Linked DNA regions of Homo sapiens: regions 2, 3, 4, 5 and 6 are each linked to region 1. Evidence: promoter capture Hi-C in 16 types of primary human blood cells and fetal thymus (Javierre and others, 2016). All regions are on one chromosome and are shown on one strand. The core of a region is centred on a gene start or on the middle of the fragment in contact, and the rest is flanking DNA. Distances in the headings are between cores, read along the strand shown. Region 1 holds the start of OLA1 (Obg like ATPase 1). Region 2 has its middle 58 kb from the start of CDCA7. Region 3 overlaps CDCA7 (cell division cycle associated 7). Region 4 overlaps MAP3K20 (mitogen-activated protein kinase kinase kinase 20). Region 5 has its middle 6.5 kb from the start of CDCA7. Region 6 has its middle 41 kb from the start of CDCA7.

Region 1 (4,197 bases), core at 893-3,392:
ATAGCTGTTTTATACATATATAGTTTTGGTGACAAGGGTACTAGACCAAGAATATAAATAGGGCACATTAATATATAATATTAAGAAAAAGTAATACAAAACCAAATCAAGTTGCCTGTGTCCTTGAGAATTTCCAAAATTGTAGAGAAAGCTCTTTAACTCACCTCACTAGAGCACTGTTACAGGGCTAAGGAAAAGCCTTAATGCAATTTTATTATGAATACTGGCTCAGAGCTTATAGGGAGTCTCTATTTGAATGAATTCTCGTCTGGGTGCGGTGGCTCACGCCTGTAATCACAGCACTTTGGGAGGCCGAGGTGGGTGGATCACAAGGTCGGGAATTCGAGACCAGCCTGACCAACATGGTGAAACCCCGTCTCTACTAAAAATACAAAAATTAGCTGGGTGTGGTGGTGTGCACCTGTAATTCCAGCTACTTAGGAGGCTAAGGCAGGAGAATTGCTTGAACTCGGGAGGCGGAGGTTGCCGTGAGCCCAGATCACGCCACTGCACTCCAGCCTGGGCGACAGAGTGAGACTCCATCTCAAAAAATAAAAATGAATTCTCGCTGAAAGGAAACAGATTTTTCAGATAGTTTTAGTTTTACTTTTTATTTGTATTTATTTTGTTAGAGATAAGGTCTTGCTCTACACCCAGGCTAGAGTGCTGCGGCAGTGATCATAGCTCACTGCAACCTTGAGCTCTCAGGCTCAAGCCATCCTCTCACCTCAGCCTCCTGAGTAGCTGGGACTACAGGTATGTGCCACTACACCCAGCTAATTTTTGTTTTTTGGTAGAGATGGGGTCTCACCACGTTGTCCAGGCTGTTCTCCAACTCCTAGGCTCAACTGATCCCCCTATCTTGGCCTCCCAAAGTGCTGGGATTACGGCCAGATTTTCAGTTAGATTGTGGTTTGAAATATGCTGCTGCCATTTACTAGTTGTGTGACTTCATCCAAATTAATCAACCTTTCTGATATTGTTTCCTCACTTGTAAAATGGGGATGGCGACCTATTTACATCCTTTAATATTAATAGCAACTAATCCCTTTAAAAGGAGCTTCTAGTGTCACAATTTTTGGACAGGTATCATATTCATTACAACAAATACCTGAATGACATCTGAAGGCCAGGACCTAAATGAAAGAATTCCTTCTCCAGTGGCGCTCATGGTATTGATATGATGTGGGTGAGATGGGATGAAATCCTAATATTAACAACAGCGACTACTCACAAGCCTTTTCTGTATGTGCTGAGTACTGTTGTTATGAGCTCAACACGCATTGTCTCATTTTATTCTCACACGAATAACCTCATAAGGTGGTTTTAATAGCCTCATTTTATCCAGAACGAAATTGAAGTCCAGAGAAGTTAATTTGTCTAGGGTCATACAGTCAATGAGTGGCGAAATCCAGATTGGAAATTCCCAAATTTCAAAGGCCCCTGCTCTCAACTACCAAGAGGAAAAGGGGGGAAATTGGCTCAATTAAACGCATTCTGTGATCCAGTACCTGTGTGCGACGCTTTAACTATAAGGCGAGGAAGAAATCCCTAGACCAAAGTTTCCCTTAGCCCCTTTTCCTTCAAGAACTTTTAGTTAACAGCTTCTCTCCGCACAGACTGAGCGAATAAAGTTATAGAAAAGGGAGATGGGCTAGCGGCCACGCGGTCCTCGGGGCTGGTGTGGCTGTTTGCCTGACTTCAGACGCCCCGGATCTCCCGGAGGGAAGTCAGGGCCCAAGGCACTCCGCAGTCCAGCTGGGAAAGCTTGGGGCTGTAGGCCCGCGAGTGAACGTGAGCAGGTAACCCAGGCCGCGCAGCCAGACGGAAGCGGAGACCTAGAACCGAGAAGCCCACGTGCCGAAGCGGAAGACTAGAGCTCCCGGGAACGGCCTAGCCAGCGCCTTCCCCTCTCCAGCTCCCTGCCGCCGCGCGGCTCCTCCCACCCTGGGCTCCTCCCGCCCTACTCCCGCCTCCCCGGCCGGTTAGGCCAATGGGCGGGACGCGCGGGCAAGGCGGGGAGGGGCGGGGCCCATGGTCTGCGCGCAGGTGCCGCTCGGCGCCCGGCCCGCCCGTTCCGCCGCTGTCGCCGCCGTCGTGCGTGCCGCTCGGCGGAGGGGACGGGCCTGCGTTCTCTCCTCCTTCCTCCCCGCCTCCAGCTGCCGGCAGGACCTTTCTCTCGCTGCCGCTGGGACCCCGTGTCATCGCCCAGGCCGAGCACGGTGAGGCCCTCAGGGAGCCCGGGGGCGCGATCTCCGCCAGGTCTTCGGCGCCTGGGCTCATTGCCCTGAGGCTGGCGCGGGGCCCGGGCCCAGTGGCCAAGATGGGGCCAGGGCAGCGGGTGGCTTGGGGATGTGTGGATGAATGAGGCGCTGTCGGACTAGGCCGCGCGTCGGGAGATCGGCCTACGCCTCACGCGGGAAAGCCCTGGGGAAAGCCTTCTCCCGACGCCAGGACGCCCGGTGGCCCAGTCCGGAGAGGAGGATGGGGGGTGGGGCCCACTTTGGGTGGGCTGCCGGCCACCTCTCTGTAGGCCAGAGGACCCGACAGGCGCTGTTCCTGTATCTGTTCTTTGGAGGCCTGGGAGTTGGCCAGGAACAGGTGTCAGGACGCTGAGAAGGGAAATTCCTGGCCCTCGGGGTCAGGGATCAGAGGCTGGAATACTACTGCAAGGGCAGGGCCCCAGCGTGGTCCTAGGAGGTACAACTCTCAGCCAGAAGACTGGGACAGTTTTAGTTCCCAGCTTCTGAGACGTGAGCTTAGCGGTCTTTGTGATTTCACTTTGCAGTCCAAGGGTGGGAGTAATTCTGCACGCATGATTTGGAGACAGAACTAGTAAGGGACAGAGAAAGTTTCGACTTGTAAATAAAAAGGTTCCGTCGATTAATTTACCATTAGAAATAGTAACCATAATGTAGATTTTGGAGGTTGCTTATGAGGACTGATGAGCCGTACCTTCAGTGCCAAAGGTGGGAGGGACTTGGTGGAAGGACCCCAGTACCTGGTGGGTGTTCATCTATGTGAAAAATGGGGGTTGTGGGCGAATGGGAAAGATAAGATTCCAGATTATAGAGGAATGGTTTGGTGTGAAGGGTGACTTGGCTGCTGGTGGTTCCACAATGGAATTTTCTTTGACTGTCTTCTGTGTACTTGCTTCCAAATGCTTTCTTTCATATAACCATATATCAGGTTAAGATATAAAGTGTTTTGTGAGCAGTCTGGATGGAAGATTGGTAGCTAAACTCTAAGTTTATCTTTGATTCCTGGTGCCACAAATATTTTATTTATTTATTTATTTATTTAAGACAGAGCCTAGCTTTGTCGCTCAGGCAGAGCCCAGTGGCGTGATCTTGGCGCACCGCAACCTTCGCCTCCCGAGTTCAAGCAGTTCTCGAGCCTCAGCCTCCCGAGTAGCTGGAATTACAGGCTGCGCGCCTGATGGCCGGCTAATTTTTTTGTATTTGTTTTTCTTTTTAGTAGAGACGGGGTTTCTCCGTGTTGGCCAGGCTGGTCTCGACTCCTGGTCTCAAGCAGTCTGCCCACCTCGGCCTCCCCCTCCCAAAGTGCTGGGATTACAGGCCTGAGCCACCGTGCCCGGCCCAACAAATATTGATTTTAGATCAGTCTTTCTGGGACTTCTCAGCAATGACTCTTTTGACAACGGATATGTTTACAGAACTTTTTAAACATTTTTGCTGAAAAAAAAGTGGATTTAGCTCTGTGTTAGTTTTGGATCGCTATATACAGTATGTTTTGTTCTTAATCTTAATTCAATAATATATTGTATGTGATGAAATGTGTTTTGGGTCCATGTGGATAGTAAAAAGTTTTGTTCATATGTTTGCTTTGGTATTTCAGATGCCCCCTAAAAAGGGAGGTGATGGAATTAAACCACCCCCAATCATTGGAAGATTTGGAACCTCACTGAAAATTGGTATTGTTGGATTGCCAAATGTTGGGTAGGTGAACGTTGGGGCTTTTGTGATTTTCATTTTGTAAATATTTTGGGTCCTATTGTAGAAATGGGAACCGTGAGGTAATTAAACTTTAAGTTGAAGAAAAGAGGCCAGGAAGCTGGACTATTAATATTGCAAAATTAGGCTTTAGTTTAGATGTATTTTATTGATTTCAGTGCTGGTTGGCTATGTGTGGTACCTACATAGGCTGTCTACCAGAGGCCATGCAGTAGGCTACTTT
Region 2 (4,207 bases), core at 608-3,107, 840 kb after region 1:
GGTCTCAAACTCCTAACCTGGTGCTCCACCCACCTCGGCCTCCCGAAGTGCTGGGATTACAGGTGTGACCCATCTCGCCCAGCCTACTCCATTTCTTTAAGGCAAATAAGAGTATACGCCTTAGGGTTGAGGGGATACCAAGGTGCAAAGGCAAAAATTAAAGACAACTTAGTAATGGCGTGATCCCCAGGGGGCGGAGCCTGCAGTGAGCCGAGATTGCGCCACTGCACTCCAGCCTGGGCGACAGCGAGACTCCGTCTCAAAAAAAAAAAAAAAAAAAAAAAAAAAAAAAAGACAACTTAGTTAAGAATTGGAAAAAGTGATTTGAGAATAATATACTAAGTGAATCAAAAGATAAAAAGTGAAATATGAGCAATTTGGGGCTTGCACAGGGCTGTTTTCTAATAAAGACAAGACATCTGAACTCGTAGCCAAAGAAAGAATGCCTTATAGTTAACTGCATGCACTCAAAATGTGGTCCAAGTTGCAAGAGAAGACATGAGGAGTACTTTTGCAAATAATTTTTATTCTAATATTTAATTTTGCTGGAAAGTCTTGTAATCTAACACAATAGTTAAGTAAAAGCTGGTCGAAATAATGAAATGCATTTCTTCCGAGCCCATGGGTTCTGAGGAGCCCTCATGGCGGAGACAGGGGTGAGAAATCCCAGACAAAAGCTCCAGGTCAACGCGCCCCAGCCGCGTCAGAGCCAGCAGCTCCTGCCCTCAGCATAAAATTGGTCCCCAGAGCAGGCTGTAGGAGAGTTCCCTGAGGTAGAAGGAGGAAAAGAAAAGGAGACTGGGGGAATGAGCTCTGTGTATGAGCATGTTCAGGGGATGGGAGCAAGAGAGGGGTTTACATCTCCTGGGAAGGCCCAGGGTACTAGGATACTGCAGCAAAACACCAACAATGGGCAAGTCATGTGTGCTATTAACTACGTTAACAACATAATTAACTTTTTAGTTGCATTTTCGTTAACTTATTCTATTTTTAGTCAATGCTTTTTATTGATCAGTTGGCAACCAAGTTTTTATAAGTGATTGTTTTTAAAAGAATTGATCATAAAGGAAAGAAAAAGAATGAGAAAAAAAAAGGAAGGAAGGACAGCTATGTGCTGCAACGCTTCGGTACCCTTATGTTAAAAAAAAAAAAAAAAAAGGTCTTTTTATTTCCTAAGTCCAGGCTCAGAGGATGATCTCTTACTAAAATTCTAGCCTGTGGTCCTGGCCAAGAGAGTAAACTGCTAGTCACCAGGACATAATTCTGCACCTGTCTTTAGTATCTGTTGAAGTTCCTAGAGCAGCATCCAGGGATAAAAACAAATGACCAAGTTTTTGTATGGCACCGAAGCAAGGACACCAAATAGTCACTCTGATACCCTCCGTTCTCCAATCCCTGCCCCTCACGAGGCCCCTCCTTGCAAAGAACAGCTCAACGAAAGGAAATAGAATGCTTTTTAAAAATACAGGCTACCCACGTTAGACTTTGCACAGTTTTACTAGCTCTGCCACTGACCTACAGATCTAACAACAGCAATAACATCTGTCACCTATTGAGCACTTCCAGGTAGTGTTCTAAGCATTTACATACAGTTACACATTTAATCCTCACAGCAACTCTATTAGGAAGCTGCTAAATATTAGTCCCCACTTTGCAGATGAAATTGAGGAAAATGAGGTTAAGTGAGGTGCCCAGGCCACGTGACCAGGATCAGCCCACAGGCCTCTGCTTCCAGCATCTGCCTTCTCAATCTGTACACTGTGTGATGTTGAAAGCTTTTGCTGGAATTAAGCCTCCTTATTTTAGTTTATCTTCTTCCTGTTAAACCACATACAATACTTCTGCTTTTATTTATTCAATAAAATCTGGAATCAGAATCAGGTAAAAAACATATAGAGAGAAACAGTAGTTCAAAGAAATTCAAGTCTGAGAAAGCTTTGGAAACATTTTTTCATGTTAAAGGATTTTCGGCAAAAATGTAAGTGTTTTTAATCTCTTCTCCCATATGTTTAAAACAGAAGGCTTTTATTAGAGCAAGTCATTGCACTAAGATGCAAACAGTTTAAAAAAAAAAAAAGTGAAAATGACCCAGAGCCATTGCCTTGGAAAGAATAATAAGTAGGGGTCGGGCATGGTGGCTCATGCCTGTAACCCCAGCACTTTGGGAGGTGGAGGCAGACCGATCACAAGGTCAAGGGATCAAGACCATCCTGTCCAACACGGTGAAACCCAGTCTCTATTAAAAATACAAAAATTAGCTGGGTATGGTGGCGGGCATCTGTAGTGCCAGCTACTTGGGAGGCTGAGGCAGAAGAATCGTTTGAACTCAGGAGGCGGAGGTTGCAGTGAGCCAAGATTGCACCACTGCACACTCCAGCCTGGTGACAGAGCGAGACTCCGTCTCAAAAAAAAAAAAAAAAAAAAAAAAAAAAAAAAAAAAAAAGGATAATAAGTAGGACCACTAGGACCACTGATGTAAGCAGACTTAAGAATCTCAAACAAGTTTTTGGGTTTAGTTTGTATATTTTCTACATATACCTCTAATCAACAGGGATAGCCACTGTTAGCATTTTGAAGCGTTTCTTCCAAAAAGTGTTACTATTTCTAACCACAAGCACAACAATATTGCTTACATAATTTAACTCTTAGGCTATGAGTGTTTGTTTTTTGGGGGTTTGGTTTTGAGGATTTTTGTGCCTTATAAATAGCCCTCCATAGACTTGGGAGAAAGTGATGGCATTAATATGTAAAAAGAATAATATCTCAGGTTTAGATTTTACCATTTCTCATCCACAGAATGCACTTCTGCAGCACCAGAAGAACTTGTCAGGCAAATAGCTAGATTCGAGTTAGAAACAAACCAAAAATCCAATCAAATTAGTTTTGAGATCATGATTGAGGTCACGATAATGAACAAAAGAAATTAACCGTTGGCCAGGCATGGTGGCTCACGCCTGTAATCCCAGCACTTTAGCAGGCAGAGGCGGGCGGACAGCTTGAGCCCAGGAGTTCAAGACCAGTCTGGGCAACATAGTGAAACCCTGTCTTTACTAAAAATACAAAAAATTAGCCAGGAGTGGTGGTGTACTACCCAATTACTCAGGAGGCTGAGGTGAGAGGATCACTTAAGGAGTGAGACTCTCTAAAAAAAAAAAAAAGAAGAAGAAAAAAAGAAAAGAAAGAAAGAAATTAACTATTGGAAATGTCTAAGTTTTAAGATTTTAACCCAATCTTTGACCCTGTAGATATACAGCTTAATTTGATTATTTCCTTTCCTGAGTTTATTTAATGGGCTTGGTATGATAGAACCACTACCAGAATACTACCAGAATACAGCTCAATGAACTTGTTTAAAACATCTTAAGATGTTGAACTGCAGTGAGAAAAAAAGGGGACAGTACAATCCACTGTGGAATGGCAAATGCATGAAGACTTCATAGAAAGGATTGATAATGAGTCGTGTTCAACGACATCCACATTTTATTGTATGCCCCACAGTATAGATGGCAGGGTATTCATTAGTTATGACTTATGTGGTTCAAGTAAATGTAGTGACTTACAGTGGGTTTGTAACTTTGCAGGTGGTATGATATAATCATGGTTCTTAACCTGGCCGTCTGTTAGAATCCCTGGGTGAGTTTCTAAAAAAATACTAATGCCCTGTCCCCAGCCCAGAACAATGACTTCAGAGTCTCTGGCTGTGGAGCTGAGGCAATGATGTATTTTTAACTCCAGATGATACTATTGTGTAGTTTGAGATGCACCGGTACAAACAAACAGCTCAAGTTTCTGAGTCAGCCGGTGCTGGGTTCAGATAGTGGCCCTGCCCCTGATTAATTGTGCAAATTTGAGTGTTGTTTCCTCATCTGGAAATGGGAGATGGTAATACCTACTTCACAAGGTAATTGTAACTATTAAATGAAAAAAATATATGGAGAATGCTTGGGAAATAGTGGCCACTCGTTCATGCCAGGTCCTCCCCTTTATATCTTTCATGTTTTGTGTGCTCTAAAACAAATCTAGTTTTGCTAAATTATTTCAAGACAGTCGCTCAGATATTCAATGTCTTTTCATTCTGCCCCAAGAAATTGAGCTTTCAAAACTGTGGGATTGCTGGCTAGGCAGCTCACAGGTAGCATTGTGGAACAACAAGCAAAGTCTGAGCATCGCTTTGGGAGCAATGCGTCCATCTTCAATAATACTGTCA
Region 3 (4,619 bases), core at 49-2,548, 880 kb after region 1:
ACTAAGCAGATAATTCCACTGTGAAAGAGGGCTAAATCCCAGGGATACTGTAAAACTTTTCCTTCCTTGTGTGAAAAAAACATATAGGTACAGATTTCACATGCTAGGCCCTTTAGAACCTGGGCAACGCTTAGGGACAGAAGCTCTCTTCCTCTCACAGATGTTTACATTCTCAGGTGTAATTTAGAGGCTCTCACCAGTGAACGGTTATATATCTTCTCTCGAGAATTGCTGCAGACGTTCTCCAACTCCTCCTCTGTAATTTCTTCCACTGGGCGAATTATATGCGGAAGGGTCACGGATGATCTGGAGCGACGGCTTCTGGGCAGGTCATCTTCCTGCATTACAAGGAATACAAAACACAGAACTTCAAAACTGAAAAACTGAAAGAGATTCAAAACTGAAAAAACAGATTCAAATATGAAACACAGAGATTCAAAACTGGCTCTCCCCAGCTTTGAATCTCAGATACTTGACTTGTAATTTCTTCACACAAACTTCAACCTGGAAATCTCTCCTAGAGCTTATGGTAGGGGAACAGGCCATACGCTTACTGTAGCCTAACTGGACATTTTGGAAACGATGCCTACAATTAAGAAGAGATGAAGAAAACCCAATTCTCGCCTGCTAATAAAATTACCAAGTAAGCTTATGTGACGTTTACAGTTCTGAATGGTTAGAGGAAAACATTTACTATGGATCGCCTGGTGTTAAGGATGTGCGTGTACCTGTGCTGTGTATGATGCCAGGCCTACCGAAGATGAGAATCAGAAGAGCAAGTACCAATGCGGAGAACTCACATTCATGTAGCCATCCACGGTCTTCCTCTTTCTCACCAACATGTACTTATCCTCTTCCTCCTCCTCCTCCATGGGTAGAGCGTCAAGGGACCCGAGGATCCGGGACCTTGACCTGGTAAGAGGACGAGCTCTCCGTTCAGGGTTTCTCCTGGAAGCAACACCCGGGAATGTACGCCTTCGCGGTCTCCTTGATTGCTAAACAAAGCACGTATAAGGGAATCCATTTATTCCATAATAAAGAGAAGTAGTACTTTGGGGAATTCATAGCTTCTCCTTAAGGATGTTTTAAGTAAAGAGAGCTCTATTTTTTCTTTTTCTTTGTCCTTTGCATAATGCATGGCAAAATGAGCCTAAAACCTATATGGCCATCTTAATTTTGCTTTTGTAATACCAAGCCCAGTTTCTTTCAACTTGAGAGATGAGCTATTTATTCTTTTACTTAATGAAGATGTAAGAAATGATCTTCTGTTCTAAAAAAAAAAATTTTCTCTGATGTCTCTTGACCCTGTAGAAACACATTCAGTTTCTACACTGCAAAATAGAGGGATATCTGTATGGCTTCCCTCTTTCCATCTTTCCTTTCCTCAGGGAAAGCCAGGAAAAAGAAATCTTTTCTATCACAGCAGACACACCAAATCTCCCTAAGTTGTACCACCTTAATTCCTCAGAATGCAATTGTGTATGATACCAAGCTACAACTTGATAAGAAATTGTGATTTTCTTCTTTTATTTTCATTCTCCAATTTTAAAAACATCTATTGCACATCTACCATGTAGGAGGAATGTGCTCACACTGGAGAACAGAAAAAAGTTTTCAATCTTCATTACCTGCCCATGAGGGGCTTAGTCTAGCTGGGAAGGAAAGAAAGAACCAATCAAAAGGAGTTTAGTGCCACAGGAGCACAGCAAGGAGAGACCAAACTGCCCAGGATTCAAGGAGGATCATCCAGAGATCTGTCAGGGGGTTTCCTCTAGGTCCCCTTCGTTTGTCTAGAAGGCCACACAAATAAAGAAATTAGATTTTTAAATACAACACAGATCGACCTTAGGTGTGCCCAAAACACTACTGTATATAAACAAGAACTGGTACTTACTGAGTCGGAGCCTGGGAGGGGATGTCTTCCACGGAACGAGCCAGGGAAGCTTTCTAATTCAGACATGAGTTTTGCAAGCTAAAAAGGGAGGAAATTAAACTGATATCATTGGCTTAGAATAACTGTCGAAAATGAGCAACTAACTTCTGGAAAATACTCAAGTACATCTCATGGTTTTATATTTGATAGTAAGCTGACACATTCAGAGTTTCTGATTTCCCCTATACACTTAACCAGGCCTTTAACAGATTTAAAAAAAGTAGTTCAGGGAAAGAAACACATTTTGAGGCACACATTGAAGACTTCACAGGTAAACAAAAATAACTTTTTATTCATGTAACAGAAAAAAATAACTTTTGCGTGATGGAACAGATTTAAGTAATGAGTCGCTTAGAGAGGAAAAATTAATTCTAACACAAAGTCAGATACCTACCATTGCTTTGTTTTGCTTTATATTTAAAGCCCTTTTCTCCAAAAAATTCATTCCACTTTCATCTTCTGAATCGGAGTTGGAATCAGTCACAGAATTCTCTGAGGGCTGGCGGGACTCTGCTTTTTTGTTGGTTGCTCCCCTGGTACTCCGCGCTGGAAACTTCATCGCCACCCTGAGAGGTCCAGAGTGCCTGCACTGGCTGCGGGTCCTACAGCCTTCCCGAACTGACTGCAGCCTCTAATCACAACAATTGAGTCATTAGGACTTGATCAGCAGACAAGCTGCATCAGTATAACTACAAAGTCCCTTTTCAATGAGACACTTGTATGAAATGAATTTTAACTGAACATTGATACCTCTGGGTAACAAAATCAGGAACCACAAAGAGTACATCAACAGAGTGCAGTTTAATTCCATGTAGCCCATCTGGACCACACTGTTATAAGCTATTTTCATAGTCCCTAGGCCTGTGGTTCTGAGCCTTTTTTTAAAATGTTAAAATTCCTACCACCTGCTTTTCATTTCTTTAGAAACAGATCTTTATGTATTTTAAAAGAATTCTGACAAGAACAAATGTGTTCTCCTGGCTGGGTGCAGTGGCTCACATCTGTAATCCCAGCACTTTGGGAGGCTGAGGCGGGTGAATCACTTGAGCCTAGGAGTTCGAGACCAGCCTGGGCAACATGGTGAAACCCCGTCTCTGCAAAAAAAAATACAAAAATTAGCTGGGCATGGTGGCGCATGCCTGTGGTCCCAGCTACTTGGAAGGCTGAGGTGGGTGGATGGCTTGAGCCCAGGGGGCAGAGGCTCAGTGAGCCGTGTTCGTGCCACTGTATGCCAGGGCTGGGTTACAGAGCCAGACCCTGTCTTGAAAAAAAAAAAAAGGGAAAAAAATGTGTTCCCCTATAAATATGGCTTCAATGTTTATGGCAATATTAAATTATATTAACAGATCTCAATTCTCTACTTTAAAAAATATATAATATAATATACATAAGATTTATCATTTTAACCATTTCTAAGTATACAAGTCAATGGCATTAAATACATGCACATTGTTGTGCAGCCATCACCACCATCCATCTCCAGAATGTTTTCATCTTCTCCAACTAAAACTCCATCCATACCCATTAAACAGTAATTCCTCATTCCCTCTTTCCCTCCGCCCCTGGCAACCATCATCCTATTTTCTGTCTATACATTTGACTTCTCTAGGTACTTCTCTAATCTACTTTTAGAAGTTCAAAATGAAAATATTTCCAGATTCCAAAAGTAATATAGGTTTTCATCATTAAAAATTTATCCAAATTAGCCATAGGGTAATGTAAATCAAAATCACAATGCAAGGCTGGGTGCGGTAGCTCATGCCTATAATCCCAGCACTTTGGAAGGCCGGGGCAGGCGGATCACCTGACGTCAGGAGTTTGACACCAGTCTGGCCAACATGGTGAAATCCCGTTTCTACTAAAAATACAAAAATTAGCCAGGCACAGTGGCACACGCCTGTAATCCCAGCTACTTGGGAGGCTGAGGCAAGAGAATCGCTTGAACCCAGGAAGCGGAGGTTGCAGTGAGCAGAGATCACTGAGACCACACCACTGCACTCCAGCCTGGGCTACAGAGCAAGACTCCGTCTCCGAAAAATAAAAATAAAAAAAAACACAAAACATAGTGAGACACCACTTCATAGTAGAGCTAAAAAGCAAAAGAAGGCTGGGTATGGTGGCTCACATCTGTAATCCCAGCTCTTTGGGAGGCTGAGATGGGCAGATCACCTGAGGTCAGGAGTTCGAGACCAGTCTGGCCAAGATGGCAAAACCCCGTCTCTACTAAAAATATAAAAAATTAGCCAGGTGTGGTGGCACATGCCTGTAGTCCCAGCTACTCAGATGCTGAGACACAAGAATCGCTTGAACCCAGGAGGCGGAGGTTGTGGTGAGCCAAAATTATGCCACTGTACGCCAGCCTGGGTGACAGAGTGAGACTCTGTCTCAAAAAAAAAAAAAAAAAGCAAAAGGAAAATAAAAAAAAGTATTAGCAAAAATTTGGAGAAACTGTAACCCTCACACACTGCTGGTAGGAATGTAAACTGGTGTAGCCACTTTGTCTATTTCTCAAAAGGTTAAACAGTTACTACATGACCCACAATTCTATTCCTATGTATATACCTAAGAGTATACACAAAAACTACACAAAAACTTGTACATGAATGTTCACAGTAGCATTATTCATAATAGCCAAAAAAGTGCAAACAACCCACTTATCCATCAACTGATGAATGGGTAAATCAAA
Region 4 (4,629 bases), core at 91-2,590, 980 kb after region 1:
ACCAGTGTAGACTTGGCACTTCCAAACTAGCTCTGAAGCCTATTTAGGGAAAATCTCCACATTTAGAGGTTCCCTGTCCAAGATATACTCTTTCGATTTGGTTCTACTGTAATTTTTTTCTCCTAATCCTAGAATAATATCCCTTTCCTTTTTATTTTCTTCTTCTTTTTTTTGGTCTTAACCACCTCACTCCTTGCAACTAATAGTTTCTCATTGTTGGCTACTAATTTATTTTTATGGGGAAAAAAAAATCCTGTTAATCCCTGCTTTGCTCTTGACTTACATTGATCTTTCAACCTGGCAAGTGACTTTTGGTGAATAAGCATCATTAGGAAAAGAAAAAAATAGAACATCCAACTTATTATTTCTTTACAGTCAAGAAGCAGACTGCAGATGTTCTTACTCTGATTTTGTCTGGGAGCATTGATGCTGACAAGTATTTTTCCATGAGATATTACAAAGTGGTCAGTTTTGTGGGCTGGTGGAATAACCTCTTTGCAGTCACTGACTGCACTAAATAGGGCTGAGATCATTGAGTTATTTTATTACCAGCTTGGATTCCCTACCCCATAACCGAAGAAAGCAAGATGGAAGAAAGTGGCATGAAACTAGCAACGATCTGCATAGTGCCTTTTAAACTAGACTCTTCAGCAATTCCCCAGAATGCAAATTTTGTTTCACAATGAAGGCCATACTTTGTGTTCCTTTCAGAGTGACTCGGTCAAGACTGTTCATCTATTTATCCAAAAATTCCGATCACAGAAAATATTTTATTGCTTATTTAGAAACAGCATGATATTAAGATAGCATATTTTGCATTAGTCTACTTTAAATGAAGGACAAAAAGCAAAAATAATTGAAAACAGGCTGTGCTTGATAGCTTCATGAGAAAGAATCATGGTGGAGCTGAAAACCTTAGAAGTTGGTTACACATGATGGAAAAGAGGCCCTCACTAACTGACTACACCATTCCCATTGCTTTTGCTTGTAAATACATCTGGCACCCAGTAAAACTTTATAAAATCAAGTTGTTGAATCAATGTTTAGGTGATGACAACTTCCCTTGTAAATAAAGGTCATTTCCTATAATTTTGACTTTAGTATTGATTGATTGATTGATTGATTGAGACAGGGTCTTGGTCTGTTGCCCAGACTGCAGTGCAGTCACGTCTCACTACAGCCTTGACCTGCCAGGCTCAAGTGATCTTCCTGCCTCAGTCTCCTGAGTGGCTGGGACTACAAGCAAATGCCACCATGCTCAACTAATTTTTGTATTTTTTTGTAGAGATGGTGTCTCCCTATCTGACCCAGATAGGCTGGTGACCCAGGCTGGCCTTGAACTCCTGGGCTCAAGCAATCCTCCTGCCTCAGTCTCCCAAAGTGTTGGGATTACAGGCGTGAGCCACCATGCCCCACCCACGTTGACTTTAATGCTACCGAAATACAGTTTTCCCCACCAGGCCTCAAGTAATGTATCACACACAGCAGGGGAGCTACCCTGAGAACAAATGCATGTACTCTGATGACCAGCTTCTTTTAAAAAAGAATTCAAACCCACAGAATTAGAAGAGTGTCCTCTGGATTTCTACAGAGCACTGAGAATCCTATGTAGGGCTTAGTGAATGCTAAACAGGGTTAGTGAATGCTGAACAGAATCTCAGAATATTGAAAGTAACATTTATTGATTTGACATACAATAAGTTTGTTGCTACCTGACTTTTTGGTTTGTAAAACATGAAGCATTTCACAAGTTGGATCCCACCATTTCTGCCCTAAGCTGCAGACAGTCTCCTTGCACCCCCACTGGTTTACCTCTTTGCCCACAGCTGCTCAGAGCTGTCTTGCTGCAAGGCTGATATTTACTGTCTTACTCCAACAAGGATGTTGGTAATTTTAAATTTCTCTGGCTTTTAGCTTGTGATGTTATTGTCTTGCTCTGTGTCTGTTTTCTTTTAGATTTTAGATTTCTGACATCCCAAGAGGCCTTTATGGAGTGTTGTTTTATCCTCTTTGCTCCTTTGGTGAAATTTAGAAAATAGTATTTGAAAGCAGTCGCTGGGAACTTAGGAAGAGAAAGAACCACAAATCTAGGCAATTTAAATCTTTGGTTTCTGATAAATCGTAATGAATGAGATATGCATCATATTCAACATTAAATTCAGTAACTTTTTTTATTACTGAAAAATGACAAGCCAGATCAGTTCAACTCTGACCATCATACAGACACAAATATCTTACTAAAATAAATACTAAATACTAACCAGCAGGGCTGAGCCAAGGATGAGATGAGTGAGGTACCTGCCTTGGGCACAAAATTTAAGGGGACATCCAAAAAAAAGAGGGGGAAAGAAAGAAAAGAAAAAAGAAGCAACAAAAAACCTCAAACCAAAAAACTCGATAATCAAGCTAAATGATATTTTAATGCAATATTTAAAAAAATAAATGCAAAAATTATGATGAACAAAATATCAAAATGTTAAAGACAAGATCAGTAACAGTGCCTTGCCAGGCCATATTGCAGCCTCAGCCAAAAGGAAAAATCAGTAACATTCATCTTATCTTTTCCTAAAAATTTGATTTTTTTGTTGACCTCATTTTCCTTCCCCTTGTCCTGGCCCTGCTAACCAGAATATCAGTGGTTAGGGTAAAAAGATGGCATAACCTTTCCTCTAAAAATGTTCACTCAAGGCAGAAAATATGTGTAGTGATTTTCAAGCCTAGTTATGATCACTGGGTGACCAATATCCATAATTTTGGCCCTGGTTTGGCTATAGTCTCAATTAGAAGGTATTTCCCAATCCAAAAACTGGAAGTGTTGTCTTTTCGTTAATTCAATCTGAAGGGATCATATTATCAAAAACCATTACATTTCTTTTTTTTTTTTTTTTTAACCTGCTTAGAAAAGCTATGTAGTTCAATTCATCAAAAGTTTCTCCATCCACGGTGGTCCCCTCTGGCTCTCTCTTTATTGGTTTTGGCGGGAGATGGCCTGTGGGGCTTTTTCCGGTATTCCACTTTTGTCCAGCCCCCTTCGCTGACTTTGCTGTCCTCTTCACTGGCTCTTGAGTCAGTCTCAGGGTGCAAAGGCATCCCTGGTATGGTGTTGGGTTGGTGGAGGTCCCTGGGGCTTCTCTTGAAGTCAGGCGACTGGTGAGGATTGAGTGCTGACTGAGAAACCCTGTAGAACTTTCCAGGGTATCTTCCTCTTGAAGGAGTGGAATGCTGACTCTTTCCACTGTATCTTCCTCTAGGAGAAGAATTGAGTGATATACTACCACGTCCATATTTGTTCCTGCTTCTGTCTGAGTATCGACCCCTCTCTGAAGAGGTGTCAGTATTGCCACTGGAAAAGCCACTGTCCCTAGAGTTGAGATGTAGGGAAGAGAAGTTTTTGGTCAGTCCATACTGAGTAGGAGACGAGCTTCTGGACTGGTTCACAGGTGTAATCTGTTGATACTTAATGGGCACCTGGGGCCGTCTCACAGCAGCAGCGTAGGAATCCTGGCCATCAAAGTGTGAGAAGAACGGTGACCCCAGAATAGGATTGCTCTGGGAACGCTGTAAAGAAGTGTTGGATGCAATCTGCCGCATCCTCAGAGTATCTAACCACTGGCAATCAGCACCTGCGGGAGAAATGGAAATGAGCATCTTTTAAGCCACACTAAAGCTGCATGTCTAATTCATACGCCTGTCTTAGGATAATTCAGGGCTGTTTGGGATGCTCTAAGCTTTACCATTCATAGAAATTCTAGGCTATGTATAAGGACGTTTCTTTTATTACAAATACTTTAAAAAATAAGGACATTTACACTTATTCAATATATGCTATGTGCTTGGCATTGTTCCATGGGCTTTACTTACACTATCTCATTTAATCCTCTCAGTAATCTTCTTAGGTAAACACTAATAGTTTTATTCTATAAATGAGGAAGCTTGAGAGGTCAAATGACTTGCCCAAGATCACTCAGTCAATAATACCAAGTCCTTCTGCATCTAAATCCCATCTTCTTCCTACATAGTTGTGTTGTTACTTCTAGAAAGTATGTTCAGGTGGCAGGGGCATGTTTAGTAAACAAAAGGTTTGTTTTGCCACCTGCATTTTTAAAACCTCAAGGACCCTAAATGCAGATAAGAGAAATGAGGTTCCGAAGGTTGAGACAGCTAGAGATTGTTTGGAAGAAAGACCGTTCACGTGTCCACAGGAGAGATCCTGAGGCTCGGGAATAAGAAGTATTTTCAGCATAAAAAAATGAAGCTGCATTGGCAGATAGGAAGAAGTTAAGATAAAAGAAAATGGTGAATTAACAAGAACCATTTAGTAAGCTATATTTCAGTGAATAAGCAAGTTCCTCACACCTGAGATCTTTTCTGTTTTCCCCCGAGCCTGAACAACGTTACCCATGTTCTAGAGTTCCTGGGTGGTCCTCCCAGCCTCAGCTTCCTCAGCTACTCCACCCCCTGCTCACGCAGATAGTGCGCGTGGAGAGTATCAGAGCATGCACATGTCTCTGTCTCCTCACTGCCTGGGCACAGGTGACCCCGAGCTCTGAAGTGAGTGACTTGTCCAGACAATTCCAGAGACTCCTCCCAGGCTTCAGTCCATCACAATGCCTTCTTCTGTTGTTGTTG
Region 5 (4,747 bases), core at 994-3,493, 900 kb after region 1:
GACAGGACAAGGGGAGAGAAAATGAAAGAGGTACAAATTTAAATAAGAGAAACAGAAAAGGCTTCTCTGAGAAGGTGACACCTGAGGAGGAACATGAACAAAGTCAGGAAGGAAGCTACAGGAAGAAGAGGAAAGTGCTGGTTTCAGGCACAGTACACAGCTGGCCCAAAGGCTGTAAGGCAGTGCACAGCAAGGCACACTACAGAAAGCCAGGCAAAGAGGGAGAGAGCCCAGATCATGTGGGACCTTCTTGGCCATGGGAAGAACTTTGGATTTATTCCAGATATGATGGGAAGTCATTGAAGGATTCTGAGAAAAAGAAAGACCCAATCCGACCCCATGAACTGTGTGGGTCGTAAACTGAAGGAGAGCCAAGAGTGAAAGCTGGGAGACCTATGGGCTCCTGGAGAAGCAAATGATGGCTTGGACTGGGATAGTTGTGGGGTCAGATGAAGTCAGATTTAAGATATATGATTATTATAAAAGTTAGAGCTAACTGGACTTGAGGGATGGATGGTTCATTCATATTAGCATTATGTATCATAGTAAAATACTGCAGTCAACATGCCCCTCAGAAGGGAAATGGATACATGAACAGTGGTGTATTTGTACAATGGAATCTGAACAGTAGTTCAAATTAATGGCATAGCTTACTGGCATCATTGTAGAGAAATCTTAACAGTGTTCAATGAAAAAGCAAATAGTAAAAGTGTCTGTAAAGTGTACCCTTTATGCAAATTTTAGAAACACAAAACATACCTAAGTTGGGAGAGTATAAAAACCTAGACAAGCAGAATAGCACAGAAATTAACTTAAGGTGGAAAAGATGGAGGAAAGAGGCAAGGGTGGGTCCTTTGATTCTATTATTAATGCTTTCTTCTTTTCTTTTTCTTTTTTTTTTTTTAAAAAAAGGCTGGGTCTTGCTATGTTGCCCAGGCTGGAGTGCAGTGGTGTGATCATAGCACATTACAGCCTCCAACTTCTGGCCTCAAGTGATCCTCCCACTTCAGCCTCCCACATAGCTGGGACTATGGGTGTACATAACTGCACCCAGCTATCATTAATGCTGTTAAATTAAGTTTAGCCTAAAGCCGCCTCCTTACATATTTTAAGTTCAGCCTAAAGCTTCTCCATACACAATGAACTGTAACCCAACTGGGTATATAAACAGACTAACTTACTCTTGTACCAACCACCATGTTTTGGCCAGTCAAGGGTGACCAACTGTTCAAGCTGTGTTCAAATAAGGCAAACCCTGAGCTGTAACCAATCCAGCTGTTGGTGTAATTCACTTCTGTTTTCTGTACCTCACTTTTTCTGTCCATAAATCTTTTTCCACCATGCAGCTGCTCTGGAGCCTCTCTGAACCTACTCTGGTTCAGGGGATCCCCGATTTGCAAACATTCTTTGCTCCATTAAACTGCTAAATTTAATTTGTCTAAGGTCAGTGCTTTAACAATGCTTTCTTGAAAAATAAAAACCATGGGAAGCAAATATGGCAAATTGTTAAATGTGACAAATGCCAGTGATTAGTACATGGGTGTCTTTTACATGTTTACTTTCTGTGCTTTTTTTTTTCTTTTTTTTTTTTAATCTGAAACATTTAATAATTTTAAAATATTTAAGTTTTGGAGAGTTTGTTCTGACAATCAATATCAATATATTTATTGTGTTAAATATACAGTTCCTTTACAGGGTCCTATAAATAGGAATGCAAGTTTGTCATGCAATTTTAGATGCCTCATAAAGGTTTTAAGTCACTGTATTAATCACACACTGGTAAATATTTTCATTTTAAATGAAAGACACAAAATGAATAAGCATGGAAAATCAGTGTCCAGGGAAAGATGATGGCACAGGCCACAGCAAAAGGTAAAAGGAAATGACATTTTATAAGTACATACTTACACAGACACTACTTGATATGAGGGCTGTTAATACAACAGGTACTCAGTAAATACTTATTATATTTATAAGTATTATTTGTATAATTTAATTTAATTATTTTTTAAGTTCCAGGGTAAATGTGCAGGATGTGATGTGCAGGTTTGTTACACAGGAAAATCTGTGCCATGGGTGGTTTGCTGCACCTAGCAACCCATCACCTAAGTATTAAGTCCTGCATGCATTAGCTATTTTTCCAACTAAAGTGGTTGTAGGTGGAATTTTATTTTATTTTTACATTTTTTCTTTTTTGAGACAGGGTCTCACTCTCACTCAGGCTGGAGTGCAGTGCTCAAGCCATGGCTCACTGCAGCCTCAACTTCCTGCGCTCCAGCAATCCACCTACATCAGCCTCCCAAGTAGCTGGGGCCACAGATGTAGGCCACCACATCTGGCTAATTTTTCTATTTTTTGTAGAGATGGGGGTTTCGTCATGTTGCTCAGACTGGTCTCGAACTCCTGGGCTCAAGCAATCCGCCTGCCCTGGCCCCTCAAAGTGCTGGGATTACAAGCATGAGCCACCATCCCCAGCCCTGGAATTTTAAATCTTCAAAATATTCTAAAATATCAATCTCTTGTTAAAGAGCTTTGAATTCCCTGGGCTACTACAAACCCTAAGAATTCTGTGTTTCTCTATACCTTTTATTCACCTTGCACAAAGAATTCCATTTCCTATTATTAAGTTTGAAACTTGACTGTGAGGTTCAGAGCACTTACATAATGAGGTAAGTTAAACTTCAACTCAGAATGACTGGTTTTCGGACAAAGAATGCAACCGCTAATAGCATGTATCATTTTTAGATGAGATTTAGAAACAATGCTAATGTTTCATGTGCTGCTCTCGGTCCCATGCACCCATCTCTCAGGCGGTATAACATGAACCCAAGCGCCCCTGTAAACCAGAGACCTTCAATAGACCAGATACCCCTGGAGACAAAGGGCTGGAGCAATTTCACTGTGTTTGTGGATATAGACAGTTTGCAGTCTGTCAGGTCACAAATCTCTGTTTTAAATAACCCCTAATTACAGATTTACGTCTCCAGTGCCTGCTTTCAGGATGCATAAAGGCAATATAGCTAAAAGGCCTAACGTTAGGCTTCAATTGTCAAAAGCTGCTCTGTTGGAGGGCCCAGCCCATTATCACCCTGGCTGTTTGGTTCACAAATGCTGGCTCTCCAAGCCATATTGGTATGTTTGTTTTGCATTGTATGTCAACACTGTTTTAAGTAGATCAGTTTGCTGACATCTGACACCTGATTAGAAAAAGGAATATGGAAAAATGAGTGCAAATCTGACCTTTTTTTGGCAAGAAGAAATATTTGTTTTTCCGTGGATGAACATTGTCTATTGTGAAATATATTAACTGCTAGTGTTAAAACATCATTAAACACTTTGCACAAGGGAAAGTCAAGCTTTGATTACTGAATCAGTCAGTTCCAACACTATGGAAGCTGAATTACAGCCAAAACCTAACTCAGCTTACTTCTTACCATCCACAGTTTCCCTGTCACTTGTTCACCTTTCCATAATTTCTTTTTTCCATTTGGCAAAGTTTTTGTCTGTTTTTATGTAAGAATTTTTCATTGTTTTTAATTTGATCATTTTTTTCTCTGGAAACACCCATAAAAGGTGTTAAATGTCTTTGTTCATCACTTAGGCAACTTATTCTAAATTGTCCTAGTTGTGAATTATATAAATCATTTATGTCTTCTTCAGATCTGTTCCTTTCAAGCAACTCTTTGGAAAGAGAATTGCTGCAGAGAGAAGAACTTTATTAACTAAATGGAGACTTAGGGCTCATTTGTAGGTGGTTTAATTTCTGAAGTAAACCAATGCAAGATATTGGTAGGGGGTCCCAGGGAAGAGGCTAATCTGCACATTGTCCTATCAACCTAGAATTCAAAATTAGTCCCCCAGCAGGCCTCAAAAGTTAAACACAGGGCCAGGCCCAGTGGCTCACGCCTGTAATCCCAACACTTTGGGAGGCTGAGGTGGGCGGATCACCTGAGGTCAAGAGTTCCAGACCAGCCTGGCCAACATGGTGAAACCCCATCTCTACTAAAAATACAAAAAATTAGCTGGGCGTGGTGGCAGGCATCTGTAATCCCAGCTACTCAGGAGGCTGAGGCAAGAGAACCACTTAAACCCAGAAGGCAGAGGTTGCAATGAGCTGAGATAGCACCACTACACTCCAAGTCCAACCTTGGAGACAGAGCGAGACCCTGTCTAAAAAAAATAAAATAAAATAATAAAATAAAATTTCGATCCTTTGAACATGGATAAAACTTAAAAATATTATGCTGAGTGAAATAAGCCAAGCACAAAAGGATAAATATTGCCTTATTTCACTCATATGAGGTACTTGGAATAGGCAAATTCATAGAAACAGGCCAGGCACAGTGGCTCACACCTGTAATCCTGGCACTCAGCCTGGGAGGCTGAGGTGGGTGGATTACTTGAGGTCAGTTGCCGCGAAGAAGAACCAGCACTGAGACAAAGGATTTCTCAGCAAGGCAAATTTACTTTGGCAGAAGGGTGCTGCCTGTGTCAGTCACGATCACAAGAGCACACAGAACAAAGTAGAGTAGGGATTTTTATTCGTAATGCAGATTCTACCTCTGTGTCTTTCCCCCATTGGCTGGGGTTGGACTGCACAGTCTAAACTAGTCCTGATTGGTGAAATATTCAAACTTTCTTAGATAAGGTAGGCGCGTAATAGAGGAGAGAGGGAGAGGAGGAAGCAGTCACTTCTGGGGGACTAAAAAGCTAACCTATTCCCACATAAGGAAAGGAATGTGGACTG
Region 6 (4,619 bases), core at 460-2,959, 850 kb after region 1:
AAATGATTTAAGGTAAGGCCTCTACGTGGTGTCATCAGCCACCTGGTGTCACTGTCAGATCACCTGGTGGATGCTGCTAACCCTGGAAAATTTGGGAAGGACTCTGTTCTCTGGGTTTTGTTTGTTTTGATGCTATTGTTTCCGGTTTTTGCTCAAGTAATATGATTTCTCTCCTTGGCCTTCTTATTGTTTGTTCTCACTCTCCCCACTCCCACCCTCGCCCCCCTCCACACACACACATACATTCTCCCTCTTCTTTCCTTCCAATGTCCCTGATTCCTCTGTCTAGCTTGATTGCCTGCCACCCATTTTCTCTCCACTCCTTGCAAAACTTTTCTTCTTTGACTGACTGCTCACTTTGCCATTCCCCTCAACTATACTTGTTTCTAAATCACTTTGGATCTCACTTTCTGTTTACCAAGTCTGAAAATAATAAATAATAAATACAGGCCACTTTAGATCTAGGCTTTCTTAAACATTTTTTGGTTTGCCTCAATAATCCTAGGGGTTAGAGGGCCCCATAACCTGTAATGTAATCCAGACACTCTCTAGGGTAAAAAAAGAGTTGGATTTTATCCAAAAATCGTGGTTGTCTACAGGCATGAATTGAAAGAAGATCAATTGAGAGGAAACAGCATGACGTACGTTCTCTAGGGAATCCATGGATCCGAGAAGCCTTCAGAAGATAAATATTGGCCCCAGGGAGAAGGAGCCAGTTTCTCTCCTGGAGGCCACCTAAATGTGGAGGGAAACACCCCTATATCTGGCCTCCTCCATAGGCCAGGTGAGGGCTTCCCAATGTCTTGGAAAGCACCAAGTTGGTGAGTGGCATAACCTGATCATGTCATTCCCACTGATCAACAAAGACACACTAGTGGAATTTGTCTTCCTGTTTCTTGTAGCCCTCCCATCATCAATTGGGAGTGAGTGAAAGAGTCACCTCAGCCTCCCATCCAGTCGTCCTTAAGGGAACAGCTTTAAATGCAATGCAAACAGACCAGGCGCGGTGGCTCATGCCTGTAATCCCAGCACTTTGGGAGGCTGAGGCGAGCAGATCACCTGAGGTCAGGAGTTCAAGACCAACCCGGCCAACATGGCAAAATCCCATCTCTACTAAAAATACAAAATTAGCCAGACATGGTGGTGTATGCCTATAATCGCAGCTACTCGGGAGGCTGAGGCAGGAGAATCGCTTGAACCCAAGAGGCGGAGGTTGCTGTGAGCTGAGATCACTCCATTGCACTCCAGCCTGGGCAACAAGAGCAAAACTCAAGAAAAGAAAAAAGAAAAGAAAAGAAAAGAGAAAATGCAAACCACACAGGGATTAAAGGATAACCACTCCAAGATTCAAACGGCTTTAAGTCTCAGGAGAAAGTATGACATTGAAAAAATATAGAAAAATAGGTCATGAAAAGAATGTAATAGTAGAGGCCAGTATCCACAGAGTAGGAAGAAACACTGATAAATTAGAAAGGCTTCCCGGTGTTATTACTGGTTTTTTATATTGACCATGTTTTCTACCGACACCAACATGTGGACAGAATGTGATACTCGCCAACTAGTCAATGCTCTTATGGCTGACAGCACACAAAGCTCAGAAGAGTCTTTCTTTTCCATCCCTGCCAGTGCCTGGCTTTTCAGTACAACTCAGGCCAAAGGAGACGTCCCTGCCTGCTAGACAGGGTCTGGTTTGCCATGAGCCAGAGACTTCCCGGTAGCACTCGGGGGCTGGGAATGCTGTGAAAATGCAGGGTCAGGCAGGAAAAAAGTAGGTGCTCCCTGTTAAAGCAAACTAAATGTGGCCTGAGAAGGACTCCGTACTTCTATATTTGAGCCCTTGTGGATGAACTGCAACCTAACTTAATAGGTAGATGAGATTGAAAACCTAATTTAGGAGTCTGCACCAGTAACAATCGCTAAGTCTTAGCCAATCCCAGCAGACATACTTCAACCAGTCACACACCGCTGAGTGTTCAAACTGTGTTCAAATAAGGCAAACCCCAACCTGTAACCAGTCCAGCTGTCTCTTTAGCTCACCTCCGATTTCTGTATGTCACTTCCCGTTTTTTGTCTATAAATTTGTTCTGACCACGAGGCATCCCTGGAGTCTCTCTGAATCTCCTGTGATTCTGGGGGCTGCCTGATTCACAAATCGTTCGTTGCTCAATTAAACTTCGTAATTCGGCTGAAGTTTTTCTTTTAACATCCTTGAAGGTGCCAGTGAACTTTAGCAATCCGTCAAAGTACTTTTCATCTCCAAGTCCAACCTGTTCACCGCACATCGACTTCCACATATATTAGCTTGGGAAGCAAGCCTGCCAAGATGACCTGAAAACACTGGAAATTGGTGCCATCCCTGCAATTAATGAGGGGTGACAGTGGCTGCAGTTGTGGGTAAATCCTCTCTGGCGGACAATTTCCTATTTGGATACACTCAAGTTCACCCTGTTTGTTTCTGAATCATAATAAACTCCCTCTGTGAATTTCATATACAAACCCCTGTTCTTGGGGCTATGCCAGACCCAGAGCCCACTCTGAATTTCATGGAGGAGAAAGATGTACCTAAGGTTTGCTCCACATCACGGCGTGTCTTCTTTCGCATGCTCTCGGTGGTCGTGTTAAAGCAACTAGAGGAAAGGGTAGGACATGGAGTACTTAAGATTTCCCTTGAAGCTGTTGGCAACACTGGTTGGAGAACTTCTGCTGTTCTCCAACCAGTGCTTATGCTGCAGGCAATTTTGTTGTTCAGAAGAGCTCACCTTTTTAAAATAAACAAGCCTCATCAATTGTGGGAGCCGAGGTTTTCTTTGCACTTCACGATTTAGCTACCTTATGTGTTTTTATGGCAACCTCCCTCCCACCCCCACCCCACCATTTATCACATCATCTTATCACAGTCTCTTTGGGAGACGCAAATAGCACACTAATGTTTCCCTTTGTTAGGGTGAGTTGTCAATCTCCTCAGAAAGGGAACAACTACAGACAGCTCTTTCTTTTGATAATCTTCCTGACACTTGCCAGAGACTGGCTTATCCATCACACAGAACCTGGCTCCGTGGAGAGGCACATGCCGACAGTCAATCAGTATGGATGTCACTTTGTGTCCATCAAGAAAATATGTAATGTGAACTGTCGTGTATTTTGTTCCAGTAAATAGCCTTCCTTTCTCCCTAAATCTTCTCTGTTTTTTTGTGGGCTGACAGTGCAAACACAACACACGCAGCTCTGCTCTTTGACTAAGCAAGTCTGAAAGCTGTCCTCTCTGCGCTGTTTTCAGTTTACTGACCTACTCTTGTTTTTGCTGACAAAGGAAGGGGAGAAAGAACGTAGAGCCTCAAATGCCCTAAGTTTGGATCAAGAGCACCTTGTTAGAATTAGGAATGCTGGATTTGGTGTGAACTTGGTGCTGAGTTACATCATCAGCCATAAGCTTCCAGCCACTGGAAATCTTCCTATAGACAACAGTCCTCACTTCCCAGATGCAGAGCAAGCCAGAGAACCTGTAGGAGAAAACCAGGAATATAGAGCCAGAAACATACAATGAAGTCATTTCTCCAAACAAGTTTGGGTAAATCAGCCAAGTCCAGGCCCCCAAATTGTTCTTGGAACCTTTTCCTTTCCATCTGAAAGAAGAAGGAGATCCTGTAGGGAAAGAGGTTGGAAGAGGCTGGGGTGCAAAAAGGAAAGAGGTTTTATATGGACGTTTGTGTATGTTAGGCAGGCCATGCACTGGCTGTGGATTGCCGCCTTCCTTCTTTTCTGGGAATAGAAATGGGTAAAAGCCATCATCAACCAACAATTATGATTGTCTCCAAGATCTCTCTAAGTAAGATCTCTGGCTAGAATTACAACTGGATCTCAGACAAAATTAGATTCAATATCTAGGTTTTTAATGGAAAAATCTGTAGAAAGCCAGATATCCGATAGAAAATGGTTAATAAATTATAGAGAGCCAAACTATGGAATCCTTGGCTGCTACTCAAGAATGAGGTGGATCTTTGTGTTCTGCCACAGAGAAGTGTCTAACAGGGAGTGAAAATGGCCTTTTGCATTACACTATGGACAATGCAACCCACCTTTTATTTCAAAAGCATGATACAAATGCCAATTATTAATCACTATCCCTGGGGTAATGAGACTGTGAGAGAGAAAATTTTATTTTCACTTTTTAGATTTGAATTTTTAAAAACAAGTGTTTATTTGCTTGGGTTTTTCTTTTAAGCCAATAGGAAAGATATACTTAGGTTCACTCACACATAATCTCCTGGCCAGGAAGGGTTTTAGGAGAAAAACTTTATGCACTTTCATTGCTTTAGAGAAGAGGGTGTATTTTCTTTTTCTGGGCATGTGTTAGGATGAAAAAAAAGAACAAAATCCACATTTAAAAAGCTCCCAAGCTGACTTCACTCTCCATGGCTGAGAAAATTAAGATTTTGGTGTGCTCTGCCAATGCAAGTGAATTGAATAGAATTTGTTTAAATGGAAGAGAAACTGGTGCTTCTAGGCCTCCCACAAAGATCTAGGGATCCCATGACAAAGAAATAATAATCCCTGGGGCTTCTAGATTAAAAAGAATTCTGTAGAGTCGATGTAAACAAACATCCTAATAAAAACCCGTT

The links. Contacts are between HindIII fragments. The CHiCAGO score rates a contact against its expected background, and 5 or more counts as called.
Region 2: a fragment that was not itself captured here is called in contact with the fragment with the promoter of OLA1 in region 1 in 1 of 17 cell types (total B cells); the score reaches 5.2 in total B cells.
Region 3: a fragment that was not itself captured here is called in contact with the fragment with the promoter of OLA1 in region 1 in 1 of 17 cell types (fetal thymus); the score reaches 5.1 in fetal thymus.
Region 4: a fragment that was not itself captured here is called in contact with the fragment with the promoter of OLA1 in region 1 in 2 of 17 cell types (total B cells and monocytes); the score reaches 5.4 in total B cells.
Region 5: a fragment that was not itself captured here is called in contact with the fragment with the promoter of OLA1 in region 1 in 1 of 17 cell types (fetal thymus); the score reaches 6.0 in fetal thymus.
Region 6: a fragment that was not itself captured here is called in contact with the fragment with the promoter of OLA1 in region 1 in 3 of 17 cell types (total CD4 T cells, total B cells and non-activated CD4 T cells); the score reaches 6.1 in total CD4 T cells.

What each region holds. Positions count from the first base shown.
Region 1 is chr2:174,246,477-174,250,673 of GRCh38, reverse strand. OLA1 (Obg like ATPase 1) reads left to right here and starts at 2,142. Exons shown (of 11, transcript NM_013341.5): 1 at 2,142-2,222; 2 at 3,859-3,959. The coding sequence starts at 3,859. RefSeq lists a silencer at 1,837-2,356. The HindIII fragment of the contact is 2,463 bases long and covers 1,770-4,197 here.
Region 2 is chr2:173,410,329-173,414,535 of GRCh38, reverse strand. No RefSeq gene overlaps it. Among named protein-coding and RNA genes, the nearest start is that of CDCA7, 58 kb to the right of the region's middle. The HindIII fragment of the contact is 160 bases long and covers 1,778-1,937 here.
Region 3 is chr2:173,361,171-173,365,789 of GRCh38, reverse strand. It overlaps CDCA7 (cell division cycle associated 7), which reads right to left. Exons shown (of 10, transcript NM_031942.5): 4 at 2,328-2,564; 5 at 1,895-1,972; 6 at 801-995; 7 at 198-338. Among named protein-coding and RNA genes, the nearest start is that of CDCA7, 8.6 kb to the right of the region's middle. The HindIII fragment of the contact is 1,295 bases long and covers 651-1,945 here.
Region 4 is chr2:173,265,044-173,269,672 of GRCh38, reverse strand. It overlaps MAP3K20 (mitogen-activated protein kinase kinase kinase 20), which reads right to left. Exons shown (of 20, transcript NM_016653.3): 20 at 1,658-3,623. The coding sequence ends at 2,923. The region is part of intron 2 of MAP3K20-AS1 (MAP3K20 antisense RNA 1); the gene reads left to right. Among named protein-coding and RNA genes, the nearest start is that of MAP3K20-AS1, 15 kb to the left of the region's middle. The HindIII fragment of the contact is 4,780 bases long and covers 1-3,730 here.
Region 5 is chr2:173,345,978-173,350,724 of GRCh38, reverse strand. No RefSeq gene overlaps it. Among named protein-coding and RNA genes, the nearest start is that of CDCA7, 6.5 kb to the left of the region's middle. The HindIII fragment of the contact is 2,231 bases long and covers 1,128-3,358 here.
Region 6 is chr2:173,393,183-173,397,801 of GRCh38, reverse strand. No RefSeq gene overlaps it. Among named protein-coding and RNA genes, the nearest start is that of CDCA7, 41 kb to the right of the region's middle. The HindIII fragment of the contact is 3,447 bases long and covers 1-3,432 here.